Regions from separate parts of the Homo sapiens genome. Here all the other regions are linked to region 5. The links are contacts of gene promoters, found by promoter capture Hi-C in human tissues and cell types (Jung and others, 2019). All regions are on one chromosome and are shown on one strand. Each heading gives the region's core, a stretch centred on a gene start or on the middle of the fragment in contact. The rest is flanking DNA. Distances are from core to core; before and after follow the strand shown.

Region 1 (2,700 bases), core at 196-2,695, 350 kb before region 5:
CAAATGCAGGTGACTGCTGCATGCGAATCTCTGCCCTACTTAACCATCTCCCCAGGAGTATGGGGGTCACCTCTGCTTAGGACCACCTTGGACTCCACCCACCAAGTTCTCCTACTTATGACGTTAGCTTATTTTTTCTTCCTTCTTCAAAAGAAAAGTTTTAAACATACACAAAAGAAGAGAGAACTATATGACAAACCCTTTACACCCATCACCAGCTAGTTTCAATTATCAAGCAAAACAACTAGTCTCGTGTCACCTATTCTCCCATCTCTTTTTTTCGTTGAATATATATATATGTATTTTTGAGATGGAGTCTCACTCTGTGGCCCAGGCTGGGATGTAGCGGAGTGATCTCGACTCACTGCAACCTCCGCCTCCCAGGTTCAAGCAATTCTCCTGCCTCAGTCCCCCCAAGTAGCTGGGATTACAGGCACACGCCACCACACCCGGCTAACTTTTGTATTTTTAGTAGAGACAGGGTTTCACCATGTTAGGGAGGCTGGTCTCGAACTCCTGACCTCAGGTGATCTGCCTGCCTCGGCCTCCCAAAGTGCTGGGATTACAGGTGTGAGCCACCCCGCCCGGCCACCCATGTGTGTCTTTAACAGATAGAGATGTTAAAGGACAAAACCACATTTTATCAGACCCAACAAAATTAAGAATGATTCATTAATACAATCTACTATGTAGTTCATATTTAACTTTTCCCAATTGTCTCAAAAACTTTTCTTTCCTGTTGATTTGTTTGAATCAGGTTTATCCAAAGGCCTGTGTTACATTCAATTGTAAGATCTCTTGGGTATTTTTCTATCAGCCTGCTTCAACATGTTCTGTTTTCAGAGGAAACGCTAGAATGAGGAAAGCATTACCCCTTGAAAGTCTCTCCAACTCACTTTCCTGAACCCTTTTCAATAACACAAAAACAAGCATCTCCTTTTTTTTTTTAGGTTTTTTTTTTTTTTTTCCCTCTGGAGGCAGGGCCCAGGCTGGAGTGCGGTGCAGTAGCTGGGACAAGAGGCATGCGACATTATGCCTGGCTAAATTTTGTATTTTTAGTAGAGATGGGTTTTGCCATGTTGCCCAGGCTGGTCTTGAACTCCTGGACTCAAGCAATCCATCCGGCCTCCCAAAGTGCTGGAATTACAGGTGTGAGCCACTGCGTCAGCCTGGGGGTGTTTTTAAATGATAAAAGGTGTTTCCCTTTCCAGAATCTTTAAAATAAATGGATTCCTCTAATAGCTTTCAAAATCCAACAATCATCCCAGTGAAGTCAAAAAGCAGGGTTTGTATTATTTCTTGTTTTAGAGGGTAAAAATTTCTGGGATTTTGTTCTTTTCAAAATGACTTTTTTATGCCCTCCCACCTGCTTTTTGAAATCCACCAACCACAATATTTACCCCATCCCCCTTTTCTCTCCCCCCCATCTCTCTCTCTCTCCTTTACACACTCCCTCTCTCTCTCTTTTTAGCAGCAACATACAAGCCGGCCATATTAGAGAGATGGAAATAAAGCTTCCTTAATGTTGTATATGTCTTTGAAGTACATCCGTGCATTTTTTTTTAGCATCCAACCATTCCTCCCTTGTAGTTCTCGCCCCCTCAAATCACCCTCTCCCGTAGCCCACCCGACTAACATCTCAGTCTCTGAAAATGCACAGAGATGCCTGGCTACCTCGCCCTGCCTTCAGCCTCACGGGGCTCAGTCTCTTTTTCTCTTTGGGTAAGTTAGACACATCTGCATGCTCCCGAGGGTTCAGAAGTGTAGCCGCAATGTGAAGAGGATGGGGGCAGGGGATAGGAAAGAAGACATTGCTAGCGCTTTCCCTCTGTGTCCTTGGGAGGGGAGGTGCTGGGGACTGGAAGGGACGTTGCTGGGGAGTGCAGAACCCTGGGACTACTTAGTCACAGAAATGTTGGGTCAGGGGATCTGAGTGTTGCTGGGGGCTGACAATTGTCAAGGGAGGTGAATCTTCTCTGGATTTCCCCTAAGTGGACCTACGTGGCGGTGGGGCAGAGAGTGGATTGACCTGCAGTCTCTTCAGGGATTATTTTTTGGAGTTGCTGCAAATGCGGGGTCCTGGGACTTAATGCTCCCTTAAGGGGCTTCTTTTCAGAAGCTTGATCCTGGTGGATTTAGGGTATTAGGAGAGTGTGCAGGGGAGCTGGTGGCAGAAAGTTGAGTCTGGGTCTGGCTTCTTGGCACTCGGTCTCACTGATCTGTTGGAACGTGTGTGGGAGTAGGTGGGAAGCGGGCTTGGGGAATGATGTCTGGGTTGGGAGGAGACCTGCTGAGGCACGCACTGATGGAGAAGGCACCTTTGGCTTGGGCCGGATGGAATGGAGGAAGGGCCAGGTGTAGAGATTCAGGAAAAAAATGGAACCCACAGGCTGAGCGAGGTTGCAGCCCTTTAAATCCAGCCTCAGAACTGCCCAGCCCAGTCTTGCAGACTGTCCTGTCAAGTGTTTGTATTTGACCACTCAGAGACTTCCTGGTGGGGAAGTGGGCTAGAAAGTTATTTGCAAGCCTGCTTTGTAGAGTTTCATTCTTGCTCCTAAACTTACTTATTGCTGGAGCAGCAACTGAGAGTCAAGTCCAAGGACTGTTGATGGAACTATTCCCCACCACAAAGGCTCTCTCTCTTTCTGTGGTGTGATGTGCTGGGTTTGGAGTAGGAGTGCTAAACACAGACAGTGCAGA
Region 2 (2,700 bases), core at 107-2,606, 450 kb before region 5:
TTTAACAGAAGTTATATTTATGGGCAAAATGATATGGTATCTTCAATTTGCTTCAAAATAATATTGGGTGGGTAGATAAAGACATAAATGACCATGGGTTGCTGATAATAAGGGCTGGGTGATAGGACATGGGGTTTGTTATATTATTTTATCTACATTTGTATATGTTTGAAATGTTCCATAGTAAAAAGCAAAAAAAAAAAAAAAAAAATTATTGACTTTGTGTGAGCCCATGAGAAAAGCTTTGGATTTAGAGACAGAACTCCCAGATTCAGCCCTAATTTTTCCATTTATTTTCTAGCCAGAGTGAGCTGAGTAACTGGGTAAACTGTTTCATCTCTGTCATCCTCATTTTCCTTATCTAAAGTAGATGAGGAAAATTGGGTAGAATAGAATAGTGAGAATTAAATGATACAATGTATTCAAATGCTTTGCAAAGAGCTTTGCAGATGGAAGGTTCTAGTATCTGGGTTGTGAATTCCATGAAGCTAAATATGGCATCTTCATATATTTTTTTTCAGCACAGTGTTAGACATATAACAGGTGCTCTATAATTATTCAGCCTTAGTTTTTAAATTCAATTTAAACATTATTTGGTAGATGAATGAATGGGTATATTCCAAATCCTAGGTTTCAGCCCAACATAGTACCATTCTTGATCATTAACTTAGTAATTAAAACTTATAAAGAGTGAATAAAAGTAGGAGACACATTCTGACAATTAGTATTTAATTAGTGTTTATTATTTAATCGACATTATCAATTAGTTTTAATTTAATCATGTTCAAATAGAATATATTATGATACAGATTACATTTGCTCCTTTCCTTTCATGGTTGCACCTAGGCTGAAAACAGAGGAAGGTGGGAAGCCCTTGTTCAGTGTAGATATCCCAGTCTTAGAGATGATCTTCACTTAGATGCAAAGATAAGCCAAGTTAAAGCTGGGACTGAGTTTTAGGTTGTCACTTCACTTCCTTAGTAAACTTCTTTAGGTTCCAACAGTGGGAGCTCCATACTGCTTAGCATCACTGAGGTGTGGGGCACACAGATGCTTCAGTAAGAATGCATTCACTCATCCAGCAAATGCGTATTGAGCATCTACTATGTGCCTAACAGTTAGGTGTTGGGGATACAGAGACATGAACCCTGCCCTGGAGGGATTCAGTCTACAGTAGAGGCAGACGTGTAAACAAGTAATGACCATACAGTGCAGCAAAGGCTATAAAAAAGGTGTCCCAAGGTGCTAAGGGAACTATTAACTCCAGGTCCAGGGGACAGGGAAGGCTTCATGGAATGTGAACTTAATTTTGAAAGGCAAATAAGAGTTGATCAGCTGGATAAAGTAGACAGAACATATGCACAAATATATATGTGGAGGTAAGAACAAGTATGTGATTAGTTTGGCATAGTGATGAATAAGGCTTAAGGAGCCTGGAAAGTGGGGAAAGAGGGGCTGGTTAGTTGACAGAGGCAGATCATGAAAGGCCTTAATCTGTGAATTAAGAAGAGCCAGTTAAGGTATACATCCAGCTTAATAAGATAAGAGACCTTAAAGTAAATGGAAAATTATACCTTTATTATAGTTATGCACAAAACAGTTTTTAAAGAGGTTTTTTTTTTTTTGAGACAGAGTCTTGCTCTGTTGCCCAGGCTGGAGTGCAGTGGCGTGATCTCGTCTCACTGCAACCTCCATCTCCTGGGTTCAAGCAATTCTCCTGTCTCAGCCTCCTGAGTAGCTGGGACTACAGGCACACACCACCATGCCCAGCTAATTTTAGTATTTTTAGTAGAGACGGGGTTTCACCATGTTGGCCAGGATGGCCTCGATCTCTTGATCTAATGATCCGCCCACCTCAGCCTCTCAAAGTGCTGGGATTACAGGTATGAGCCACCGATCCTGGCCTAAAGAGCTTTTAAAGAGAATCCTGTCTTTTAAAGGATCCTCAGGGACCATTTATGCATTTCACAAGTCATCATACTTATGATTTTATAATCAGTGCCTGGTTTGGTCATTCACTTTCTTACTTTCTTTGGATTTGATCTACATGACTTTTAAATGTGTCCAAAAATCAAGCCCATTCTCAAAAGCATGAGGATTTGCCATCAGTAAAAATCTCAAGGCTGGATGCAGTGGCTCATGTCTGTAATTCCAACACTTTGGGAGGCTGTGGTGAGTGGATCACTTGAGGTCAAGAGTTTGAGACTAGCCTGGCCAACATGGTGAAACCCTGTCTCTACTAAAAATACAAATAAAATACAAACTTAGCCGGGCATGGTGGCACGTGCCTGTAGTCCCAGCTACTAGGGAGGCTGAGGTGGGAGAATTGCTTGAGCCCAGGAGGCAGAGGTTGCAGTGAGCCGAGATTGCATCACTGCACTACAGCCTGCGCAACAGAGCGAGACCCTGGTTTTTTTTTTTTAAATCGAAAAATGTTATGATTCAAACTCCTAAGGCAATTCTAAAAATGTTCTAGAAATATCTGGAATAACGTCAGCATCATTAGAATAAAAGCTTGTCCCCAAGGTGACAACTTTAAATGACAATTTTTCTTTGGCTTTAAAAGCTTCTTTTCCTCTTGGTTATTGCTAATGTAGCTCAGCAGATATTGACACTCAAGACAGCATATAACATTGGAACAAACTGCAAGAAAAGAGCGATGTTGCTGGGACTTTTCCCTGAGTTTTCCCCTTTCCAAAG
Region 3 (2,700 bases), core at 110-2,609, 360 kb after region 5:
GGACCTAGTGATATTTTTCCTAAGACCATGTGCACGCACACTCACACTCACACTCACACACATAGCAGCAGCCTGGTTCCTTCCCTCCCAGAGGCATGACCAAGAGGAAAGCGAGGTAGGGCTGGGCAGCTGGTCCTTCCTGGGGGCAGCCCACCTAGTGGATACCTGGAGCCAGGGTTCCTCTCCAGATTCAGATCTGGGTTCCAGGGCTCTCCTCAGAAAGTGGGGTGAGGCCGGGCATCCAATCCCAAACTCTTGGCTGCGTCCTGGCTGTGGACCTGTATCCTAGAAACACTCCAAGGCAGCCAGGAGGTGGGGGCAGGGATGAATAAATATGTAAAGTACTGAAACATTGGGCTACAAAGCTCTGACCCACAGGTCGATAAAAATTTAGAATCAGATTTATTTCTCCAAAGTCTCATAATGAAAAATAAAATTGATTAGAAAGTTAGAACTTCAGAATGAACCAGGTGGTCAATAAATTTTGGGCTGACTTCTCAGGGGATTTTTTTTTTTAACATTGAGAAACAGATTAATGAAAAATAAAGATTCACTTGAAGATAAGTCACTTCATTTTAAGACCCTTTCCACGAGATGGATCGCCCCTGCTTTATGACATAAATTTGCAATCAGCCCTATTGATTTCTTAATGCTTCAGAGAAATATTGTTAAGATTGATTTAAATCCTGACTGTGGCTGTTTGGAGAGGCGGGGGACAGAGAAGGAGAGAAAAAAAGAGAGAGGAAGGAGGCAGGAAGGATCTGTGAAGATTTGTATAAATATGTGAATCTATCTGGATGGATAGATTGGGGTGTGCCTGCATGCCTGTCTGAGACCTGTCAGTATATGTGGATGTGGTCACGTGTGCAGGTATATATCATGGTATACATAGCTCTGGGCATGTAGGCAATCTGTGGCATAGTATAATGATGTTCAATGTGTGTCAGTATAGATACACGTACATGAAGCGTGAGAATGGGGGTCGATGTGAAGAGGAAGGTCTCAGGCTCTTGAAGATACATTTGTATCTATAATGATGTCTGTGTGTATGTGTGTGTGCATAGACATACATGTGTAGATACAAGACCCAAATGTAAAAATGTGTCCACTTACAGAGCAGCAAGCAGAACTGCCCAAGTGCAGAGAGAAACATTCAAGCAGCAACAAAGAGTAAAGTCAATTAAACACACACACACAGACACACACCTATTTAGTGAGTCCAAAACAATTATGTTAAATTAAAAACTTCATTTTATTAACAGTGAGCTTAAAAATGCAGTTCATTTAAAACATTCATTGACTAGAAAAAAAAACAGTAGTGCTGTTTTACTAACTTAATTGTTTTTATCTCACTATTTTTTAGTACAATAAAAGGTGGGCTTTTAAATTAACTTCATTGTCTTTAAAACCCCGATTCAAGCTGTTTTTAAATGCGCTGGGGTGGGTGTTCTGTCTCAATTTATAGATGGGCAGGCCCGGGCATTAAAGGAGCCAGTTTCTATTTGCGGATCTAAATGTATCTGGTTGGGAGTAGGGGTGTGGATTAAGATGTTTGCTTTGATGGGTCTGGATACGTGTTCCTGGTTCTGGGTGTGAATGGATATATTGGCGGCGGGGGGAGGGGGGAGGTGTGTGTGCACGCGCATGCGTGCGCGCACCTGGCTGGGTGTCTATCAGGGTTCGAGCCTGGGATGAGAGTTTTCCAGCCCCAGACCGATGCCAGTGGAGTTTCTCCATTCGCCTGGCTGACTGGGCTCAGTCTTCATTCCCACCAGCCCCCTTCTAACCTCCAAGTCCTTGCCATCTCTGTGCCTCCATCCAGGGCTCATTCGGGCCTCAGCCTTCACCATTCCCCAATCCCTGGCCTTGGCGTCTGGGGCACTGCAGCCTTAGAGTTCCCAGAGGGGCTGCACCCAGGTGAAAGTCAGGGATCTTTTTTTCTCTAGTTTTAACAAAATACATATAACTTAAAATCTACCATTTGAACCATGTTTAAGCGTGCAGCTCAATAGCAGTAAGCACATTCACAATGTTGTACAACCATCACCACTAGCACTTCCAGAGCTTTTTCATCCTCTCAAACTGAAATTCTGTACCCATGAACCATGAGCTCCCCGTGAAAGCTCTATTCCACCCTCCTTTTGTTGAGACAGAGTCTCACTCTGTCGATCTTGGCTCACTCCAACCTCCGCCTCCCGGGTTCAAGCGATTCTCCTGCCTCAGCCTCCTGAGTAGGTGGAACTACAGGTGTGTGCTACCACACCCAGCTAATTTTTTGTATTTTTAGTAGAGATGGGGTTTCACCATGTTGGCCAGACTGGTCTCGAACTCCTGACTCAACTGATCCACCCACCTCAGCCTCCCAAAGTGCTGAGATTACAGGCATGAGCCACCGCACCTGGCCTTTCTATTTTCTTCTGATTTTGACTATTCTAAGTACCACCTAAGTGGAATCGGACAAATAGCTTTTGTCCTTTTTTGTCTGGCCTATTTCTCTTAGTGCAGTGTCTTCAAGGTTCATCCGCGCTGTGACGGATGTCAGTGTTTTCTCCCTTTCATGGCTGCATACTATCCCATTGTATTGCACTATCGTATTCTGCTTCTCCACTCATCTCCTGGTGAACACTTGAGTTGCTTCCACCTTCTGGCTATTCTGAATAATGCTGCTTTGAACATGAGTGTACAAGTATCTCTCTGAAT
Region 4 (2,700 bases), core at 60-2,559, 430 kb after region 5:
ATTCCCTTTCTGGCTCTCCCTATGGCTCCACCATATACAACTTTTCCTCTGTAAGGAATGAGAGGTCACTGATAAATTATCACTATTCTTCAGCAAGGTCATAATTGGTTGGGGGAAGGGATATGGCAAATTTCATCATGGGACTGCTATTTCTGCCCTGGGAAAGATCCTAGAAAGAGTCTGGGATACTGGTTCCAGTTACTGGAGCAGTAGTCTTAACACCCTGCAGGGTCCCAGCTGTGGGCTATAGTCAGCCACCCTCTACCCACCCATTGTTCACCCTCAATGTGAGCAAGGCAGGCCAGCTTGGGTAAACTCAAGTCGCTGAACTTTCCTACCTTAAGACCAAAGGCTTAAAATGGGGAGAATATCAGTATTACTTGGCTCTTGCCAGTCTATTTCTTGGTGTCCCAAGATGTTGAGGAACCCTGGTGACACAGCATTGCAGTGAGGAAACTGAAGGCTTTGGAGTCAGATGGCCTGGGCTTGAATCCTAGCTCTTCTACTTATTGGCTGGGTGTGATCTTGGGAAGCTACTTAAACTCTCCAAGTCTCAGTGCCCTCATCTTTAAAATGGAGACAATGATAGTAGATCCTTCCTAAGGCTGGTGTGAGGACTAAATGAGTTAAAATAGATAAAGAGCTCAGAACAGTTCTTGGCACACAGTACAAGCTCAATGTATGGGGGTTCTTTTTACTATCAGAAGAAAGTACAGCCTGCCTGATAAAAGAGGAATTGCCCCCCATTAGGTGGAGGTTTTTCTCATGTTTTAATAAAAAAGGCAAAAAACATCATCGTGGCAGGGTACCAGGAAGGAAAACCTCCCACAATCCCTGACCACAGTTTATCCCCTTCCTCTGCCCCACAGCCAGGTGGGAAGGACCCCGGGGTGTGTGTGCATGTGCGTGCATGTGTGTGTGCATGTGTGTGTGCATGTGCGTGCATGTGTGTGTGCATGTGTGTGCATGCGCGCAGGGGATGTGGCTGAGCTACCTCAGCTTCATACTGCTCTCTGGCCTTAGCCATCACTTGCTGGTGCTCCTCCTTCATCTTGTCCAACCTCCTCTCATGCTCCCCTTCCACTTCCTGGCGCTTCTCTCGCAGGAGACTGCTGAGCTGCAGGGGAGATGGCAGGGATGTGGCATGAAGAACCGAGGCGGACCAGCACTCAGGGCCTGCTGCACCTGAAGGTCTTACACACATTTCCCCAATCTCCCCCAACACACACAACACATGCACATCACACAGCCATGACACCATGGTCAGCACACAGCCATACCCCAACACCCCCTCCCCACATGCATACAGGGGCATCAGATTGGAGGAGTACCTGGCTTCAAGGGAACTAAGGCATAAAAAGGGAACTAGAAATGCTAACCCCAGCTGAGCCATCCAAAGCAAACTGGAGGCCGCTGAGGCTAGGCCGGCTCAGCTGACTGTAAGAGAGTCCACAACAGGCGCACACGACTGTGGAAGACAGAGCAGCACTCACCTCGTGCTCATACCCAGCCACGTGATAAGACTTCTGGTGAACTCTGTGCTCCACTTGCCCAAGGCACTTCTGCAGCTGGGCCTCCTCTTTCTGTTGAGCTTCCTGTATCTTCTTCTGGAGGCTGGAGACCACCTGAGGAGGCCCCCGCACACACAGGGGAGTGTGACCCTCAGACAGACTGTACAGCTGCTGTGTGGGGATGTGTTCTGAGGACCTGGCATCCATCCCCCAGGGCTGGAGAGAGAGGCTCGCTGCCTAGTAGCCAGGGATGGGGCTGAATTCTGCTAATCAGCCATGAAGGGGGCCCAGGATGCTGCATCTTACCTCCCGGTGCTTGGCCTCCAATGAGGAGCAGAGCCGCTCCAGCTCAGCACTGTGCTCCTTCTCCAGCGTTGCCACAGCCTGGGGAGGAGCAAAGGGACTGTGAGTGAAGCTGGCCAGGTACTGATCATGGTGGGAGGCGGAGCCAGGAAGACTACCGACCCCCAAGCCCTCGAGATCAGGGTCAAGGGAAGCATGGGGAAGCACAGCACATCTTTGTTCCTCTGAAATAACTCAGCCCCTGAAGTCTACAACTGGCAAATGAACAGGAACATGAAGGTCAGAGGAGAGGGGCATTTCAGTAAGTTTCGGCTCTCTGCTCCCACCCCCTGCCTTTAGACTAGGCCACAGATCCACAGATGGTGCTCATGCTGGTAAATAAGATCCAAGCCAGGGGGGCCAGGTTGGATGCTGTCATTAAGTCGGGCCATGTAGAATTTTCTTTTTATTTTGGTGAGGTGCAAAGCTGCAGCTATTAGACAAGGAAAACACTACAGCAGGAGTAGGGAAGTGCACTGTACTACAAGTGCTCAGAGAGACTGTGCTAAAACCTTCAGAAGCCCACCATCTGACTGGAGTAGAAGAGGGAGTATGGACAAAGAGAAAATCCTTGCTATATTGCTAGCCTCTCATCCTAAGAAAGGAGAGAAAAGTGGGGAGTGAGGCCCTTGCAGCTGTCCCTCAGAGACAGTGAGGGACAGAGCGCCTTTGTCTCAAAACCTCTGGTCTGGCTAAATCTCTTTCAGTCACGAACTTTCTCAAATCCACAGGACGCTCTCCCTCAAGCCTCTGAGGGTTCTCTGCTTGACAACCTCCAGCCGCCACTGCCATCCAGCCTGACCCTGGAGGAGCCTTGTGATGCCTGCTGCATCCTCTGCCCTGTCAT
Region 5 (2,700 bases), core at 158-2,657:
TTCAATCAACACACATATAACAGTAAAAATGATGCCACTCACCGTGTGCCAGGCCCTGGGATATGCTCTTTGCATGCATTATCTCACTTCCCCTCACCACCACCCTAGGAGCTGGGTACTGCGCCCATTTTACAGATGAGGAGACTGAGGCACAGAGAGGTGAAGTCATTGACTGAGACCACACCATTAGCAAGTGAGAGGGCCAGGGTGTGAACTCAAGTGCCAAGCCCTGCCCCTGCTTGGGGAGGATTCATGGATACAGTGGCTCCCTTCAGAAGGGCTCAAGCTCCCCTGCTGTCCGCTGGCCACTGACCTTGGCTGTTTTGTGGCCATTGGGCTTCAGCCTTTTCTGGAGGCCAATTCAATGGACTAGAACTCAACGAGGATTCTACAGTACCTGTGACTACCCGGCACAGGAGTCCTGGGGCGAAGGAGGTCACAGCGGAGTGGGGAGGCTGCCTGCGAGGTGTGGAAAGCATCTGCCTCCTGCAGCAGGAGGCCTGATTGTCAGTCTCCACTTCCCCCACACTGGCTGTGTGACCCTGGGCAAGGCCCCTACCTCTCTGTGCCTTAGACACCTGCCTCATCAGTAAAATGGGAAACATAAAGCTTGAGGAGAAAAAACAGTGAGGAAAGTGCTTGGTAAACCATAAACGCAGGGGGTTTTCCCCACGATGAAAGTCTTGCCCTGTCCTTAAGGATCCTGCATGCTCCATGGTAAACTGGCAAGGACACAATCCGAGAGCCAGGCCAAATGGTGGTAGGAGGAAGTGCCAGGGCGGCAGGGAAGGAGAAATTAGTTGGGGATGACTGAAGCCCTTCTGAATGAGGTGTAACCTGCAGGGTGCACGTTGATGGGTGAATAGGATGACAGATGAAGGGCCCTTCTGGAGGATCTACTGCTGGTCAGCTTTGGCGGTGCTCCAGGGATGTGGTGGGGGAGCAGTGGGCCAGGCTCCTAGGGACCACTGCAGGAAAGCCTCCAGTACCACATAAGGAACACCAGCTGCAGCGGCGGCATCCATGGTGGCTGGTGCGGTGGGCCCTGCCTGGGCTGGGGGCCACTGTGGGCCACTGCCCCCAGAAACTCCCAAGTACAGTGTACACTGAAGAGATTGTGCAACTTCCACTTTCCTGTTCCCACCGCCCCAGCTGTAGCTTCCCCAGCTGGCAGAACAGCACGACTGCTGACCCATCCCAACCCTTCTCTTTGGAAATTTCCTTTGGGAAGGTTTGGAAACTCAGCCAGCTCCTCCCTGCCCCTGCCTCCCCACGCACGTCCTCACCCTGCAGAAGGAGCCCCTCCATCCACACTGCAGCTTTTCTTGTGACCAGGGTAAATATTACCTGGCACTGTTAATGTTTAATGCCCGCACCTCGTCCCCGGCCACCCCGTGGAGGCAGCCAGACACTCTCCAAAAAGCAGAGACAGCAGGAAGAGGGGAGTGGAGGCAGCCCATTCACCTGGGGAAATGACTGGGTTGTCGATGGACGGTGGTGAGTGTGCTGGTGTGCGTGCCCGGGCGTGTGCAATGCTGGGTGGCTCTGATTGGCCTGCCTTTGTGGGGTCAGCTGGACCCTACTCTTCCCTCTCCTGCCACCTCAGCCTTCCAGAGTACCCAGCCCCTCTTCCTGTCGGCCTCCTCTCTAAGAAAATTTGCAACTTAAAGGAGGACCCTGCTTTAACCCCAAAGAAAGATAGCTTGAGTGGCAGAAAGGCAGCAGATAGAAGCTGGAGAGCTGAGCGTTCCTCCTCGGCCTCCTGGCACACACCCGCCCTGAGTTCAATGCATCTTGCTAGACCGTCTGAACTTGGGCGGGAGGCAGACGGCGTCCATCTGGCTGGGGAAGGAGCAGGCCCCTCTGGTCAGCCTTCCTAGGCTGGATTTGGGGTGAGAGCCCGCCAAGTTCAAGTCACACTCTCCAAAGGCTTCCTGTCACAGGAACTGACTCAGGCCTGGAAACCAAGAGGGGCACTTGCTGACAGAGGTGGGTTTTGAGCCAGATGCAGAAAGGGGAGGGTGCTGGGCAGGGAGGGTCTCAGCAAGCGGCTCAGGGCCAGGTGGCCACGGAGGAGGAGGTTTCCTGGGGCGTGTGGGGAAGCCTCAGCTGGCGTCTAGCTGTTGCTCTGACACTTAAATCCCCATATGACCTTAAACAAGGCCTGAACCAAATCTGGGAAGACAGCCCTGACGGCCTTCTGTGTGGGACCTGGGTCCTTCATGGCCTCCCTGAGCACCCAGCACCTCAGGCCCGTCAGGATGGGCACTGACTCTTCCTGGCCTGTCCTTTCCTGGCCCAGGGACTGGCCGCTGGGGACAGCTGGGCTTGACAGACCCTAAGTCTCACTGCTGCTCAGGGGCACAGTTTGGCACAGCCCGGAAAGTGCTAACTTGCGCGTTCCTTCCTCCTCGGGCTCCACTTCCCTCGTGCGAGAAGGGGCTCCGGCAGGGCAGGAAAGAGTAGCGGCCCTTAGCTGTGGCAGAAGCGTCCTGGCCAGGCCACCGTCTGGCTGTCCGGGGCAAGTGTACTCAGTTGCAGGGCACCACTGTGAGACCTGCCTGCTGAGCGGCTCCAAATCCGGGGGAGGCCACCAGAGGCAGGGGCAGGACCTTACCTCTAACGGGCTCCTTCCCTCCCGCCATTGAGAGGTGGCAGATCAAAGGGCTTATGCACCTCCATTCTCAGCCCCCTGCTTCC
Region 6 (2,700 bases), core at 146-2,645, 380 kb after region 5:
CCTTACGGGCTGTATGCCCAGGAGGAAGGGCAGGAGGGTGTTGAAGCCACTACACTACCCCACACTTCAAGCACATATCAACGACAGATACGCACACCAGTCCCAGGGTGCTGTGGCCTGAAAGGGCTTCCCAACCACCAGGGCTCAAGGGTGGCTCTGCACCTGCCCCCCCGGACCTCCTGGATTCAAGGCCAGACCCCCACGAGGGAGGCAGGAGGAATATGCCAGGGAGCTGTGTGTGTGTGTTGCAGAGATGCCTGTGCCTTTTCCCCTAACATTTCCCTGCAGATGGCCTGGGGCCAAAAAGGATGTCTCCTCCTGTTATAAGTTATTGGGCCTCTCAGCCCCACTATGGGGCATGAAGAATGTCCCTCTGTGCCCATACATGCCTGGAGGTCTGTTCCTCAGCATGTGTGCATGCGTCTACATGTGTGTGTGCTTGTGAGCGTGTGTGTGCAAGATCCTGTGACTGCAGAGATAACTAATTATTAGCTCCCTCTGGCCTCGGGCCCCCATCTGTTCTGGGGCTGCTCTCCCTCCCTGGACTTCCGCTCTGTTTTCAAAGGGGCCCTGGTGCTGTCCTCCTCTCCCTTCCCTGCGGCTGACCAAAAAATAAAATAAAATGAAAGTCAGCCCCATCCCGCCCGTGCCAGGGAAGAGGCTGACAGGAGGTCTGCAAACTAGCGCTTATCAAAAGCTCCTTCTCAAATTCATTTCAATATCTGAGCCTCTGGTTTCCAAGGCAACATAATCTTTTCATCAAAGCAACTGGTAAAACCACTGGGATCCGATATTGTTTTGTTGGCAACTTGTCAAAACTGTCATTTTGTTAAAAAAAATTTTATAGATTTGTATAACCTACAAATATATATGGTGATCTATACCACTAATAATCATTAATAAAGTGCTACCCAGTAAAGCTTTCATAGTTCCTTCTCCCGCCCCCTCCTCCCTGGACGGGCGGGCGTGCTGCCTGCAAAATGCAGGAGTGGTAATTAGACGGCAGGGCTAGGAGGTGACGGGAGCCAGAGCAGGCTGCAGGAGCCTGTCTCCAACCCTCATCAGGCAGAGGCAGTCATTTGCCTTCTTCCTGAAGACTCTTTCCTCAGGGCTTTCCTGGGACCCCCTGTCCCCCATTCTCCCTTCTCCTGGCTACCCCGTCCCTCACCTAAAGTACTCACATCCCCTGGCCTGAGCCACAGCTGCCAGAGCGTGGATCAGTTAAAGAGGTAAACTGAGGCTGACCCAGCAACACCGCGAGGCAGGCCCATCAGCTCCCAGGGACCAAACCCAGGGCACACTCTGTCCGCTGCATCTCTAAAACTTGGAAAGGGCAAATAGGACAGAATCCTGCCTCGCATCCGACCCCGCCATCCTCTCCTCTGAGCCCCGGGCACTGAGGAAGATTTGGACGCTGGAGGGCCCCAGTTCTGCTTCTTAGAGCCTCTTTGCCTCTGCCCCGCAGGCTCCCAGCGAGTACGAGACGAGTCCAGAGCAGCTCTTCTACCGGATCGCCCACCTAAACCGCGGTCAGCAGTATCTGCTGTGGGTGGCCGCCGTCACCTCTGCCGGCCGGGGCAACAGCAGCGAGAAGGTGACCATCGAGCCTGCTGGCAAGGGTGAGAAGCCTGAGGCTGTGGCAGAGGGGCAAACACTTCCAAAAGCTCCCTTACAGAATCCTGGTTCTCCCCAGACAGGGTCTCTGCCTGCTCCGCTTTATCTGCCACCCAGCTGTGAGGAACTGGCCACCCGCCTGCCTCCCGCACACACCAAGACTGGGCCTCTGCTGCCCCCTGACTCCAGCAAAGCCTCACAACAGGCTGCCTCCGGCTCTTGCCTGGGGCGGGTGGACAGGGTGCACTCAGTTCCCGAGTCCAAACCCTACTCCCAGCTTGAAAAAGGGGGAGTCGCCTCTACCCCCAATTCAAAGCCGGGCCTTTGTCCCAATGCTCAGCTCCTCCAGAGGTGGCTACAGCCGGGTGTGCTGCTTCCACAGAGCAGCTGAGGCTCAAAGGAGAGCCCCCGTGCTGAACTGGACACCGGGCAGGGGTGATTCCAGCGATGGCGGATTCCTGCGATCCGCAGACCTTTACGGAGCGCGTGCTGTGAAGGAAGGCTCTGGGCTAGAATCAGACCCTCTTAGGGAGTGCCCCACTGAATCTCTGACCGGGACATGGGTGTGCCATGGGGGCTGCACCCCCACTTTTCAGAGGAATGACACTTCCAAGGCCTCATCCCAAGGGCAAGCTGTAGCAGCCGCGCAGGTAGAGCTGCAAGGCTGAGCGTCTGCCTCTCCCTGGGGCGTAGGAACTGGCCACAACTAGCCCAGGACCGCAGGTCCTCTACTTGCCGTTGGGCCTCCCTGGGCCCCTCCTCACTCCCCCACTCTCTTATCCACCGCAGCCCAGACGAGAGGAGGTGGTGCCTGCGCAGCCTGGCCAGCCTACCGGGGCCACTCAAGCTTCTCTTGGCCCAAACACAAGAGCCCCAAGCCCTACCCTGCCGCGGGCTCAGAGCCAGCCAGCATCTGATCGAGGGCCTACGGTGGGCCAGGGGCTTCCACCTGCCCTGCCAGCAGGGCTTGTTGACCCATTCCACAGCTGAGCAACCTGAGGCAGGAGTGGCATGGGCTGCAAAGACAACCGGGAAGGAGTGAGCTAGCTCTCCCAGCGCCAAGTCAGGGCTCTTTCCACACAGCCT

The links. Contacts are between HindIII fragments. The study calls those that stand out against the background at their distance.
Region 1: a contact is called between the fragment with the promoter of SCN2B here and the fragment with the promoter of FXYD2 in region 5, in 1 of the 25 tissues and cell types used here (mesendoderm cells).
Region 2: a fragment that was not itself captured here is called in contact with the fragment with the promoter of FXYD2 in region 5 in 1 of the 25 tissues and cell types used here (mesenchymal stem cells).
Region 3: a contact is called between a fragment that was not itself captured here and the fragment with the promoter of FXYD2 in region 5, in 1 of the 25 tissues and cell types used here (dorsolateral prefrontal cortex).
Region 4: a contact is called between a fragment that was not itself captured here and the fragment with the promoter of FXYD2 in region 5, in 1 of the 25 tissues and cell types used here (hippocampus).
Region 6: a contact is called between a fragment that was not itself captured here and the fragment with the promoter of FXYD2 in region 5, in 5 of the 25 tissues and cell types used here (dorsolateral prefrontal cortex, heart left ventricle, lymphoblastoid cells and 2 more).

The regions. Positions count from the first base shown.
Region 1 is chr11:118,175,384-118,178,083 of GRCh38, reverse strand. It overlaps SCN2B (sodium voltage-gated channel beta subunit 2), which reads left to right and starts at 1,445. Exons shown (of 4, transcript NM_004588.5): 1 at 1,445-1,722. The coding sequence starts at 1,653. The HindIII fragment of the contact is 9,424 bases long and covers 1-1,817 here.
Region 2 is chr11:118,277,593-118,280,292 of GRCh38, reverse strand. No RefSeq gene overlaps it. Among named protein-coding and RNA genes, the nearest start is that of MPZL2, 15 kb to the right of the region's middle. RefSeq lists an enhancer at 2,565-2,700. The HindIII fragment of the contact is 5,787 bases long and covers 1-2,700 here.
Region 3 is chr11:117,466,123-117,468,822 of GRCh38, reverse strand. All of the region lies in intron 16 of DSCAML1 (DS cell adhesion molecule like 1), which reads left to right. Among named protein-coding and RNA genes, the nearest start is that of CEP164, 140 kb to the right of the region's middle. The HindIII fragment of the contact is 8,518 bases long and covers 1-2,700 here.
Region 4 is chr11:117,391,421-117,394,120 of GRCh38, reverse strand. It overlaps CEP164 (centrosomal protein 164), which reads right to left. Exons shown (of 33, transcript NM_014956.5): 18 at 1,818-1,895; 19 at 1,494-1,625; 20 at 995-1,117. Among named protein-coding and RNA genes, the nearest start is that of CEP164, 65 kb to the right of the region's middle. The HindIII fragment of the contact is 6,096 bases long and covers 1-2,700 here.
Region 5 is chr11:117,823,451-117,826,150 of GRCh38, reverse strand. FXYD2 (FXYD domain containing ion transport regulator 2) reads left to right here and starts at 1,407. Exons shown (of 6, transcript NM_001680.5): 1 at 1,407-1,497. The coding sequence starts at 1,473. The region is part of intron 6 of FXYD6-FXYD2 (FXYD6-FXYD2 readthrough); the gene reads left to right. RefSeq lists enhancers at 561-1,113, 1,114-1,667. The HindIII fragment of the contact is 16,763 bases long and covers 1-2,700 here.
Region 6 is chr11:117,442,805-117,445,504 of GRCh38, reverse strand. It overlaps DSCAML1 (DS cell adhesion molecule like 1), which reads left to right. Exons shown (of 33, transcript NM_020693.4): 21 at 1,466-1,619. Among named protein-coding and RNA genes, the nearest start is that of CEP164, 120 kb to the right of the region's middle. RefSeq lists an enhancer at 1,969-2,700. The HindIII fragment of the contact is 4,661 bases long and covers 1-2,700 here.